Linked DNA regions of Homo sapiens: region 2 is linked to region 1. The links are contacts of gene promoters, found by promoter capture Hi-C in human tissues and cell types (Jung and others, 2019). All regions are on one chromosome and are shown on one strand. The core of a region is centred on a gene start or on the middle of the fragment in contact, and the rest is flanking DNA. Distances in the headings are between cores, read along the strand shown. Region 1 holds the start of KCNG1 (potassium voltage-gated channel modifier subfamily G member 1). Region 2 has its middle 140 kb from the start of ZFP64.

Evidence for each region. Contacts are between HindIII fragments. The study calls those that stand out against the background at their distance.
Region 2: a contact is called between a fragment that was not itself captured here and the fragment with the promoter of KCNG1 in region 1, in 1 of the 25 tissues and cell types used here (mesendoderm cells).

What each region holds. Positions count from the first base shown.
Region 1 is chr20:51,021,068-51,026,004 of GRCh38, reverse strand. KCNG1 (potassium voltage-gated channel modifier subfamily G member 1) reads left to right here and starts at 2,898. Exons shown (of 3, transcript NM_002237.4): 1 at 2,898-3,135. RefSeq lists a silencer at 2,800-2,969 and an enhancer at 4,694-4,937. The HindIII fragment of the contact is 10,697 bases long and covers 764-4,937 here.
Region 2 is chr20:52,048,471-52,054,260 of GRCh38, reverse strand. No RefSeq gene overlaps it. Among named protein-coding and RNA genes, the nearest start is that of ZFP64, 140 kb to the left of the region's middle. RefSeq lists enhancers at 4,333-4,850, 4,851-5,369, 5,370-5,790. The HindIII fragment of the contact is 5,629 bases long and covers 1,370-5,790 here.

The DNA.
Region 1 (4,937 bases), core at 1,649-4,148:
CTCAGGGGGATTCAGATGCACAGTAAAGTCTGAGAGGCCCTGCTCTGCATCCTTACCCTGTGAGCATCAGTGAGGAGTCTGACTCTCTGACGCAGTCACATCTATTCCAGAAAACTGTCCTGAATTCCCCCAGGAATCATTTCCAGGAATCATTTAAGAAGCCTGCTCTGTATGTGCCTAGCAGAGTGGGAGCTGCTGGAGAGGGGAGAGACAGCACACAGTCCTTGCCCTGATGGAGCTTGGTCCCCAGTGGGGACACAGATAATACGCAAGTAAAAAAGATAGAAACATGGCCAGGTGCAGCGGCTCACATCTGTAATCCCAGCACTTTGGGAGGCCAAGGTGGGTGGATGTCTTAAGCCTAGGAGTTCCAGACCCGCCTGTCTCTGCAAAAAATATATTTTGTTTTAAATTAGTGGTGCATGGTGGTGTGTGGTAGTCCCAGCTACTCAGAAGTCTGAGGCAGGAGGATCCCTAGAGCCCAGGAGTTAGAGGTTACAGTGAGCTATGATTGCACCACTGCACTCCAGCGGGTGACAGAGTCAGACCCTGTCTCAAAAACAAGATAGAGAGCAATTTTCTGGCTGGGTGCAGTGGCTCACGCCTGTAATTCCAGCATTTTGGGAGGCTGAGGCTGGCGGATCACTTGAGGTTGCGAGTTCAAAACTAGCCTGGCTAACATGGTGAGACTCCGTCTCTACTAAAAATACAAAAATTAGCTGGGCATGGTGGCACACACCTGTAGTCCCAGCTACTCAGGAGGCTGAGGCAGGAGAATCGCTTGAACCCAGGGGGATGGAAGTTGCAGTGAGCTGAGATCACACCACTGCACTCCAGCCTGGGAGACACAGAGAGACTATGTCTCAAAAAAAAAAAAAAAAAAAAAAATTTCAGATGGGAAAGGAAGGCAGAAGCCTGATCCACCACAAGAGGAGTGTTTCTCAATATGTAATCCAGGGACCCTCTGACAACAAAAGCCCACCCCACCCCACTCAGGCCCCTCCCCCACACTGCTGGTTGGTCTCTTTGATGTTTCTCAGACATGCCTCCTTCTCTCCTGCTTGAAGGCCAGTGCCTTTGATGTTCTGTCCACCTAGAAAGCTCTCTTCCCATCTTGCCAGATGGGCTCCTTCTGGCTCAGGGCTCCATGTAACCATCACCTCCACAGGAGCCCTCCCCCATTATTCTATCTAAAGTGGCCTCTCTGGCTTCATTCTGCAATCACGTATTTCAGCAGTTTCCCAATTCTGCCAAGCCCCCAGTAGAAGGTGAGCTCTTGGAAACAGGTCCTTAGGCAGATCCTTGTCTGTCCAGGCCTCCACCTCACCAGTAAGCCAGTGTTTTTATTCTTGTTGTTTTAGAGGCTGGATCTCGCTCAGTCACGCAGGCTGGATTGCAGTGGTGCCATCATAGTGCACTATAACCTGGAACTCCTATGCTCCACCCGGCTGGGACTGCCGCGCAGGCTAGTGTGCCCTGCGCTCATTTCTTAGGGTTAACCCTAACCCACTTAATGAGCACCCACGACTCCCCAACCCGAGCCCCACTCAAGCAGAAGGCCTCAGGCTGGTCGGCAGCAGGGTTTCTTCATGTCCTTTCTTGGTTCTCTGATGATAGGCAAAGGCAGTAGAGACAGAAAGGAAAAGAGGAACGGAGTGCAAGAGACAGAAAGGAGAAGAGGAACGGAGTGCAAGAGACAGAAAGGAGAAGAGGAACGGAGTGCAAGGCAAGCCACCCTAAGAGGCCAGCCCTGCCAGCAGCACAGATCCCTCCAAACCAATAGGTCCCTCCAACTCAGTAGATTCCTCCAACCCAATAGATCCCTCCAACCCAACCTCCAGCATCTGTGCAGCATCCTACCAACTCCGAGGCTAGGCGGCCACACTGGGAGCAAGACCCCAGGACCTGGTCCAAGTGCCCTGCACCGGCCAGGGGAGTGGACGACGAAGTGCGGCTCTGCTAGCCCGGGAGGGCTCTGGGGCCTCGGCCCCGCGGGACTGGAAGGGAAAACACCTGGCACGGTACGTACTGGCCCTAGGAATTTGGCACAGCAAGATGCTGGCAGTCCCTGGGTGGCGGTGGCAGGAAGGGCCCAAGGGCAACATTGGTCTAGGAGGTCGAGAAAAGGCGCGCGATATATGGCCCCCAGGATGTGGAAGCTTGCTTGGAGCGTTCGGCTCCAGGGCAGCAGCGCGTGGAGGGCCTCAAGGATGCAGTATTTGCCCGGGGTAGGGGGGCGAGGGACCCAGAGGCAGCAGTGCACTTGGACTTCCAGGACTTCCAGGGAAAGGCAGGAGACATGGCGCATGTGGTTCCCAGGATGTGTAAGCGCGTGGAGCGCGGCCCCGGGGCAGCGGAGAGTGGGGTTTTAATATCTAGCACATGTAGACCCTGGGGCGGTGCTGCTAGGGGCGCGGACCCGGGACCACCGGAGCACTTGCACCGCGGGGAAAGCTGACAGGGCGCGCGACCCTAGGAGGCTGCCGCGCCGCCTGGTGCGTGAAGCTCCAGGGCAGCGGAGCGCGGGGACCTTGAAGGCTGTCGCGTGCAGGCGAAGGGGCCGCAGGGTGGTCGCTCCTGGGAGAGCAGACGGGGAAGAAGGCAACGGGAGGGAGGGCGTAGCGCGAGCAGTCCCGGACGCGGGCTCAGGAACTGGCCGCGAGGAGCGCAATCCAGCAGGCGCGCCAGGGCCCCCGGATCCAAGGTGCGGGGTCCCGATTGGGCGCCTGGACGCCCCGTGACGGTGGCGCCGCTGCCACTGTCCCGAAGCGAGGCGAGGCCAGGCGCTGCGCTTTCGGCTGCCCGCCCCTTCTCCCCGCCCCGCGCTCAGTCCCCTCCCTCCGTCCCGCCTCCTGCCTCGCTCCCTCCCTCGGCGGCTGCTGCGCCGCGCTCCCGGCGCACTCGGAGCCCGGCGGGGACCGGGAGGCAGAGACGGGGCGGCCGTGGCTCCGAGGGCGGGAGCTGAGCCGGGCCCCGGGACCGAAGTTTGGCGGCGGCTCCGGGAGGCAGAGCGGGCTCCCCGGGCGACTTCCAGGCCCCTCTCGCGTCCTCGCCCCGGACCCGTGGGCAGCCGGGGGGAACGGAAGCCGCGGCCGGGCCAACTCCGAGGCGGGGACGCCGCGACGGGAACTTGAGGTGGGAACTTTGCGCGCTGCAGCCTCGCCGGGCGCCACCGAAGCGCGAACCGGACCCCGAGCCTGCAAACTCGGGCTCGGGGGCGGCTGCACGTGGCCGTGGCCCTGAACTCCCTGCGGGGGCCTCGAAACCCGCCTGCGGGGAGGCCAGGGCGACAGAGGACTCGGGAGTCACCGCTGGTGCGTGGCGGCGTGGAGCGCGCTTGTTACGGCCAAGGTGCGGGTCCGGCTTCGGTTCATCCCAAGGGGTCACCGGGATGCGAAGTCCGGGACGTTCGCCGCCGCGGTGACCCCGGCGGGGGCGCATCCCGGCTGTGGGCCGAGGTTTCTCCCCCGATCCTGGGAGGAAGGAGAGTTAGGGATTGGGGTGGGGGAGTGTGTGTCACTTGCTCATTCACTGTATCCTTAGGCACAGTATGGAGCCCCCCTTCACCCCCACCGTGGGCCTGATTGAGTCATTCATTATGAACACAGCAAGCGTTTATTGAGCGCCTACTGTGTGCTAGGCACTGGGGATACTGAGACAGTTCACTGGGCACCCCCAGGAACTGGTAGGAAGGTGGTGGTCTCAGCCTTAGGGTTTCCATGTGGGAGAGAGGCTCAGCCCGGAGGTATGGAAGGAAAAGGGTGAAGTTCATTCATTCATTCATAGATTGGACAAAGATTGGTTGAGCACCTATTGTAAGCAGCTCATCATACCAAGCGCTCAACAGTCATTCATCCAGTTCACAAACATTTATGGAGGCGCTATGCTGGGGAGAAGTGAAGAGGGATGGAATGGGGGCACCCTTCATGCAGCTTAGAGAGAAGTAAGGATTAAGACCCAGGCCCCCGCTTGGGAGGCCGCAGACTGCCGGGGTGGCCAACTGTAGCAGCCCATGTATATAGGCAGAAGTCTTGGTTCATCTAATGCATTCCTTCTCAAGGTGGGAGGTGTGGAAGCTGGAATTGGTTCTAGAATAGGAAGAAAAGATCTTTTCAAAGCTCCTTAGGGGCGGGTGATGGGGTAGGGTGGGGAGGAGTTGAGAAACACTGATCCGACATTACTGAGGAATGCAGGTTCCCACCAATGGGGTTTATGAGTTAGGTTGTCCATTCAGCAGGCATTTTCTTAAGCACTCGCTGTTATTAAGCACTTAAAGGGTGCCAGGCACCAAAGTTACCCAGGTAAATGACAGACACATAGAAGAGGGAGACAGACACAGACGCCCCCACCCCCTTTGCTGACTCCCTGAGATAAGTACAGGGGGAAGTAAGAGGAGGGAGCAGGAACTGGTCTGATTCATTGTGGGGTGGGGGAAGTTCCTGCCCTATGAATCTGAGCAGAGGTTTATTCATTAGTGTGTGTTTGATACCCCCATACCCATGATGGCAGAGTCCCTATGAAGAGCCTCACCGGCAGCACATCTCCAAGAAAAGTTTGGCACTGCTGATTGGGGCCTTGCGGTCGGCACTGTGGCTAGGGCATGCTGTCCTTCTTTGGGGGATTTTTCAGGCTCTGCCAGACCTGAGCTCTATTTGTGCCTCCCCCGGCTTTTGGAGCCCTGCAGAGTCGCCTGATAGGAGGGGAAGGAGGGAAGGTGTGTTTGAAAAACAGGCAAGCGCTGGCCCCTGGGGATCACCCTCCTCAGTCATTCTCGAAGCCAGCCCGTTCCACGGGAAAGATGTCTGTCCTGGGACACACTCCTAACCTGCAGGGAACTGCAAGCACACTGGAAACGAGGCAACCTAGGTTCTTCTCCTGAGACTTGAGAGCCCAGGCCCGCAGCCTACAGCCTGGGTTGTCAAACCTTGGGAGTAAAA
Region 2 (5,790 bases), core at 2,935-5,434, 1.0 Mb before region 1:
TATGTCATCCAACCTGCAGTCTACCTTTAGACTTGGGCAAAAGGAGCCCCTGCCCTGTTTTACCGGCTCTCGATATAAAATACACACACAAAATATTCATTAAAAATCATGGGTAAGCCAGGCATGGTGGCTCACGCCTGTGATCTCAGAACTGTGGGAGGCCAAGGCAGAAGGATCACTCAAGCCCAGATGTTCAAGACCAGCCTGGGCAACATGGGGAAACCCTGTCTCCACTAAAAATACAAACATTAGCCGGGCATGGTGGTACATGCCTGTAGTCCCGGCTACTTGGGAGGCTGAGATGGGAGGATCACCTAAGCTCAGGGAAGTCAAGGCTGCAGTGAGCTGAGATTGCGCCACTGCACTCCAGCCTGGATGATAGAGTGAGACCCTGTCTCAAACAAACCCCCCCAAAAAAACAAAACACGGGTAAATCAGCCCCTCAGTGTCTGCTACTTAGCACTGGCATTGTGCCATCCATAGCACTAAACACCCACCATTGACACTAACACTGCTCAGGCCCCAGGGAAGCCGTTCTCTGCATCTTTTGTCCTATATCTGTAAATTGAAAGGCACTGTTCCACAGTGCAGGGAGGATTTGATCAGGGAAAACACCGTGGAAAGAGAAAAGACAACTGAGTTAACCCTCCCATCTTTCTCTCCCGTAGCTGGATACTTGCAGAGCCAAGTGTCCCCAGCAACACCTGAGCATCCTCGTTCTTGCTTCTCAGTGTCCCGTCATTATTCCAAAGGTGCTTACAAAAAGCACAGTATTTGTACTAGTTGCAAACGGCAGCTGAAGAACATTTTGCAGAATAAATAATTCAGATTGCCCTTTTTTTAAATTTTTTTAATTTTTTTTGAGATGGAGTCTCATTCTGTCGCCCACCCTGGAGTGCACTGGCACAATCTCGGCTCACTGCAACCTCCACCCGCTGGTTTCAAACGATTCTCCTGCCTCAGCCTCCTGAGGTACCTGGGATTACAGGCGCGCACCGCCATGCCCAGCTAATTTTATATTTTTAGCAGAGACGGCGTCTGGCCATGTTGGTCCAGGCTGGTCTTGAATGCCTGACCTCAAGTGATCCACCCGCCTCGGCCTCCCAAAGTGCTGGGATTACAGATGTGAGCCACTGCACCCAACCCCAGATTATTCTTGAATCTGCTTATACATTGGCCTTGATGTAACTAACATGCCTACAGATTCTTCACATTGGCAACTATAGATGGACACTGAATTCCGGAATTGAAGCTAGTTTTATTTTTATAAGAAATATTTAGTGGGATTTAGCCAAAACTTTAAAAAATATATTTACATTTTCTTTAATTTTGATATGAAGGCTTAATATCAATTATCGTGTATTTTACTTTCCCATCTTAAATATTTTGAATATTTTAGAAGAAAAATATTTGTAAACATTTATGAGTTTTTTGGTTTACTTTTTAAAATTTTTTATACTTTATAATTGCATTTCAGGCCGGGCGCGGTGGCTCACGCCTGTAATCCCAGACTTTGGGAGGCCGAGGCGGGCGGATCATGAGGTCAGGAGATCGAGACCATCCTGGCTAACACGGTGAAACCCCATCTCTACTAAAAACACAAAACATTAGCCGGGCATGGTGGCAGGCGCCTGTAGTCCCAGTTACTCGGGAGGCTGAGGCAGGAGAATGGCGTGAACCTGGAAGGTGGAGCTTGCAGTGAACCGAGATCGCGCCACTGCACTCCAGCCTGGGCGACAGAGCGAGACATCGTCTCAAAAAGTAAATAAATATAATTGCATTTCATTTTTTTCACCTTTTAGATGATTATTGTCAATAGCAAAGGCCAGCAAATGACAGCCTAAGGGCTGAATTTAACCCATGAACTAAGAATGGTATATATACAGTATACAAATATATATTTATTAGGTATTTTTGTATATTCATATATTTATATATGTAATATTTTAAAATTTCTTTAAAATATTTATATATTACATATACAAATTGCACATATTTATATATGTAACATATAAATATTTTAAATAATTTTTTATAAATATATAAATATAAAGTATTTTATAAATATTAAATATACAATATTTTACAAGTATTTTAATAAATATTTTATAAATTTTTTTTGAGACAGGGTGTTGCTATGTTGCCTAGATGGAATGCAGTGGCATGATCACAGCTCACTGCAGCCTCGACCTCCTGGACTCAAGCAATCCTCCTCCTCCTGCCCCAGCCTCCCAAATAGCTGGGACCACAGGCATGTGCCACCACGCCCAGCTAATTTTTTTATTTTTTATAGAAACGAGGTCTTGCTCTGTTGCCCAGGCTGGTCTCAAACTCGTGGGCTCAAGTGATTCTCCTGCCTTAGCCTTCTGAAATGCTATGATTACAGGCACGAGCCACCGTGCCTGGCCTATTTTTTTAATATTTTTAAAGATTTGTAAAACAAAGAAGCATGTATGGACCACAAAGCCTAGTACTACCTGGCTCTTTACCAAAAAAAAAAAAAAAAAAATTGCCACATCCAGGTCAGTAGAACATAAATTATGTAAAAACTTGATCACTACACATTTAGTGATTTTGCTGAAATCAACACAAAAAAAAGAAATGTTATGGAATAAATATATAATAATTTATTAATTATGTTTGTTACTCATACTAATAATATCAGAGGCCCAGCAATACAACACCCAGACATATGCAATAATAATTAAATTCCCTCATCTTTGATAGTTTTCTGACTTTTAATCATATGTAAACCATAGCTTGACAGATATGTTTTGCTTCTGTCATTATGAATGTATACTTGTCAAAGTAGGAGGATAAAATGTTTTATTTAAGATTGATTTTTTTATTTTTACACATTCCAGCATATGATATGTGGGCTATGGCCCACAAACATGGTTGAAAAATCTGCCCGTCTGTCTTGCTCTGCCTCTTAAGCGAGTTTCAGTCCTTGTCTCACCCCAGAAACTTTGAGAAGTAAATGTCAGATCCCAGTATCTATCGCCCTGTGTTGGCAATGGGCTGAATTATCACTCTTTTGCTTCTTTTTTTGGGGGCGGTGGGGGACAGAGTTTTGTTCTTGTTGCCCATGCTGGAGTGCAATGGCGCGATCTTGGCTCACCGCAACCTCTACCTCCTGGGTTCAAGCGATTCTCCTGCCTCAGCCTCCCGAGTAGCTGGGATTACAGGCATGCGCCACCACGCCCGGCTATTTTTGTATTTTTTTAGTAGAGACGAGGTTTCACCATGTTGGTCAGGCAGGTCTGGAACTCCCGACCTCAGGTGATCCGCCCACCTCAGCCTCCCAAAGTTCTGGGATTACAGGCTTGAGCCACCGCGCCCGGCCACACTTTTGCTTCCGTGTGGACTTTTTGTTCAAATCAGTTCTGAATTGAACATTCATAACCAGAGGAGCCTCTGTACTTTATGTTAATACTCTAGACACATAATAACTCATAAATACATACATCAGCTAAGGTGCTTTATTAGGCAAAGTTTTTAGCCCAGAAAACAAAGTCATTCTGGTCAAATCCCATTTTTCTTTTTGGTAATCACCATCACCTGTGGCAAATGCTTCAGGCCAATGTTTCCATTCAGTCTCAGACCTCCATCTTTTTTATTGATAATATTTCCACCCAGGAAAGAAGCACATCTTCCAATTACTTGCACAAAGGCAAAGAGTGAAAAGCCATGGATATTCCTAAAGAAGAAAGTCTCAATCTCCTTACAAATAGAGGCAAAGTAAAAAAGGAAGAAGAGGAGAAAGAGGAGGAGGAAGGAGGAGGAAGGGGAGAAGCAGAAGGAGAAGAGGAAGAAGGGAAAAAAGTATAAGGAGGAAGAGAAGGAAAAGAAGATAAAGGAGAAGGAAGATAAGAAGAAGAATTGGAGGAGGAAGATTTATTTATTTTTGAGACGGAGTCTCACACTGTCGTCCAGGCTGGAGTGCAGTGGCATGATCTCCACTCACTGCAACCTCTGCCTCCTGGGTTCAAGCGATTCTCCTGCCTCAGCTTCCCAGGTAGCTGGGATTAGAGGCATGCGCCACCATGCCCAGCTAATTTTTTGTATTTTTCCTAGAGACGGGGTTTCACCATGTTGGCCAGGCTGGTCTCGAACTCCTGACCTCGTGATCCGCCTGCCTCAGCCTCCCAAAGTGCTGGGATTATAGGCGTGAGCCACCATGCCCAGCCAGGAGGAGGAAGATTAAAAGAGGAGGCCGGGCATGGTGGCTCACGCCTGTAATCCCAGTACTATGGGAGGCTGAGGTGGGTGGATCACTTGAGGTCAGGAGTTCGAGACTGGCCTGGCCAACATGGTGAAACCCTGTCTCTACTAAAAATACAAAAATTACCCCAGCATGGTGGCACTCGCCTGTAATCCCAGCTACTTGGGAGGCTGAGTCAGGAGAATCGCTTGAACCCGGGAGGCTGAGGTTGGAAGGAGCCAAGATCACACCACTGCACTCCAGCCTGGGCAAGAGAATAAGACTTCGTCTCAAAAAAAAGAAAAAAAAAAAAAGAGGGAAGAGGAATTAGAAGAAGAAGAAAAGGAGGGAAAAGGAGGAGGGGAAGAGGGGAGAAGAAAAAGGAGTGGTAGTGGGAGGAGCTGAGAAAGGAGCAGAGGAGGGTGGGTGAAGGAGTAGGAGAAGGGCTCTGACCCCTACTGAGTTCTTATCAGTCTCCTCGACCTTAATTGCCTCCCTCCCTTTTGGCTTTTACCAGTTACACCAGTTACTGCGCTTTCTTTCATGGTGAAAAGAAGGACCAGAGTTGCTGTCACCACCTCCTTTTCAGAGTGAGCCTTCTAAGAGCTGAGGCCGAGTGAGCCTTCTAAGAGCTGAGGCCTTTGGCTCTCTCTCCTGTAGCACACTGGCCAGGCCCTGGAGCTCAGGCTGTCGCTGATCACACCCAGCTCTTGAGAGCAAACTGACCACCCTCTCCAAGGGACCCACCTGGAAACTTCTGCGATCCATTCTATTCGTTCAGACTGTAGGCTGAGAGTCCCTTTAAACTGCACTGGGCTGCTATCTCTTAGCATGTATGATTTGAGTGTTCCTTTAAGTGCTCTACAAAAGCCAGAAAGCAGGCAGGGGAAATCCTAGGTCTAAGAAATTAGGAAAGCTTTCTATTTTTGTTGGGTAAGTTTGATTCTGCAAATCATTTTATAAAAATACACTGAGAAAGTAGTCTAGCACACTTGCTACATTTTTAACATTCCTAAAGTTGCCCACAGTACTTAAAAAAAAAAAAAACGGTTTGTGTCACTTTCAATTGGGGCTAAAAGATCTTTTTGTTTGTTTTCTTGTCTTTAAAAATACTGATACCTGCATCTAATTTCTTGCCAAAAAATACGAATAAAAATACTGATTCAATAAGGAGGGCTGGGGTCTTTTTTCCAGATTAGATTTTAATTTTAAACTCAGGTCCACTATTCTGACGCGCCAGGACAAATAACTGTATGTGAGCCTATAAATTAACTTCCCTTAATTCCATCACTGATGAATTTTCATGTCGATAAGCCCCCCAAAAAGGAGGGAGGAGGGTCCCCTGTAACCAAACATAAGTCAGTTTACAAAGGAGTTCGGGGGACTTGGGGACACTGACTCCTCTTCAGAATTGCCTAAAGAGACTGGCCATTGACAATTTAAATCTTCAGTGCTTTATCTCTTTGTTTGAGTCTTGGAATGCCATTGATACCTTCTTTGTATTTATAATTGTTTTAATTAGCTACCCAGCGGGGGCCTCTCTCCCAGCTTGGATTATGGGCTGCACAGCGGGACAGGACAACCCA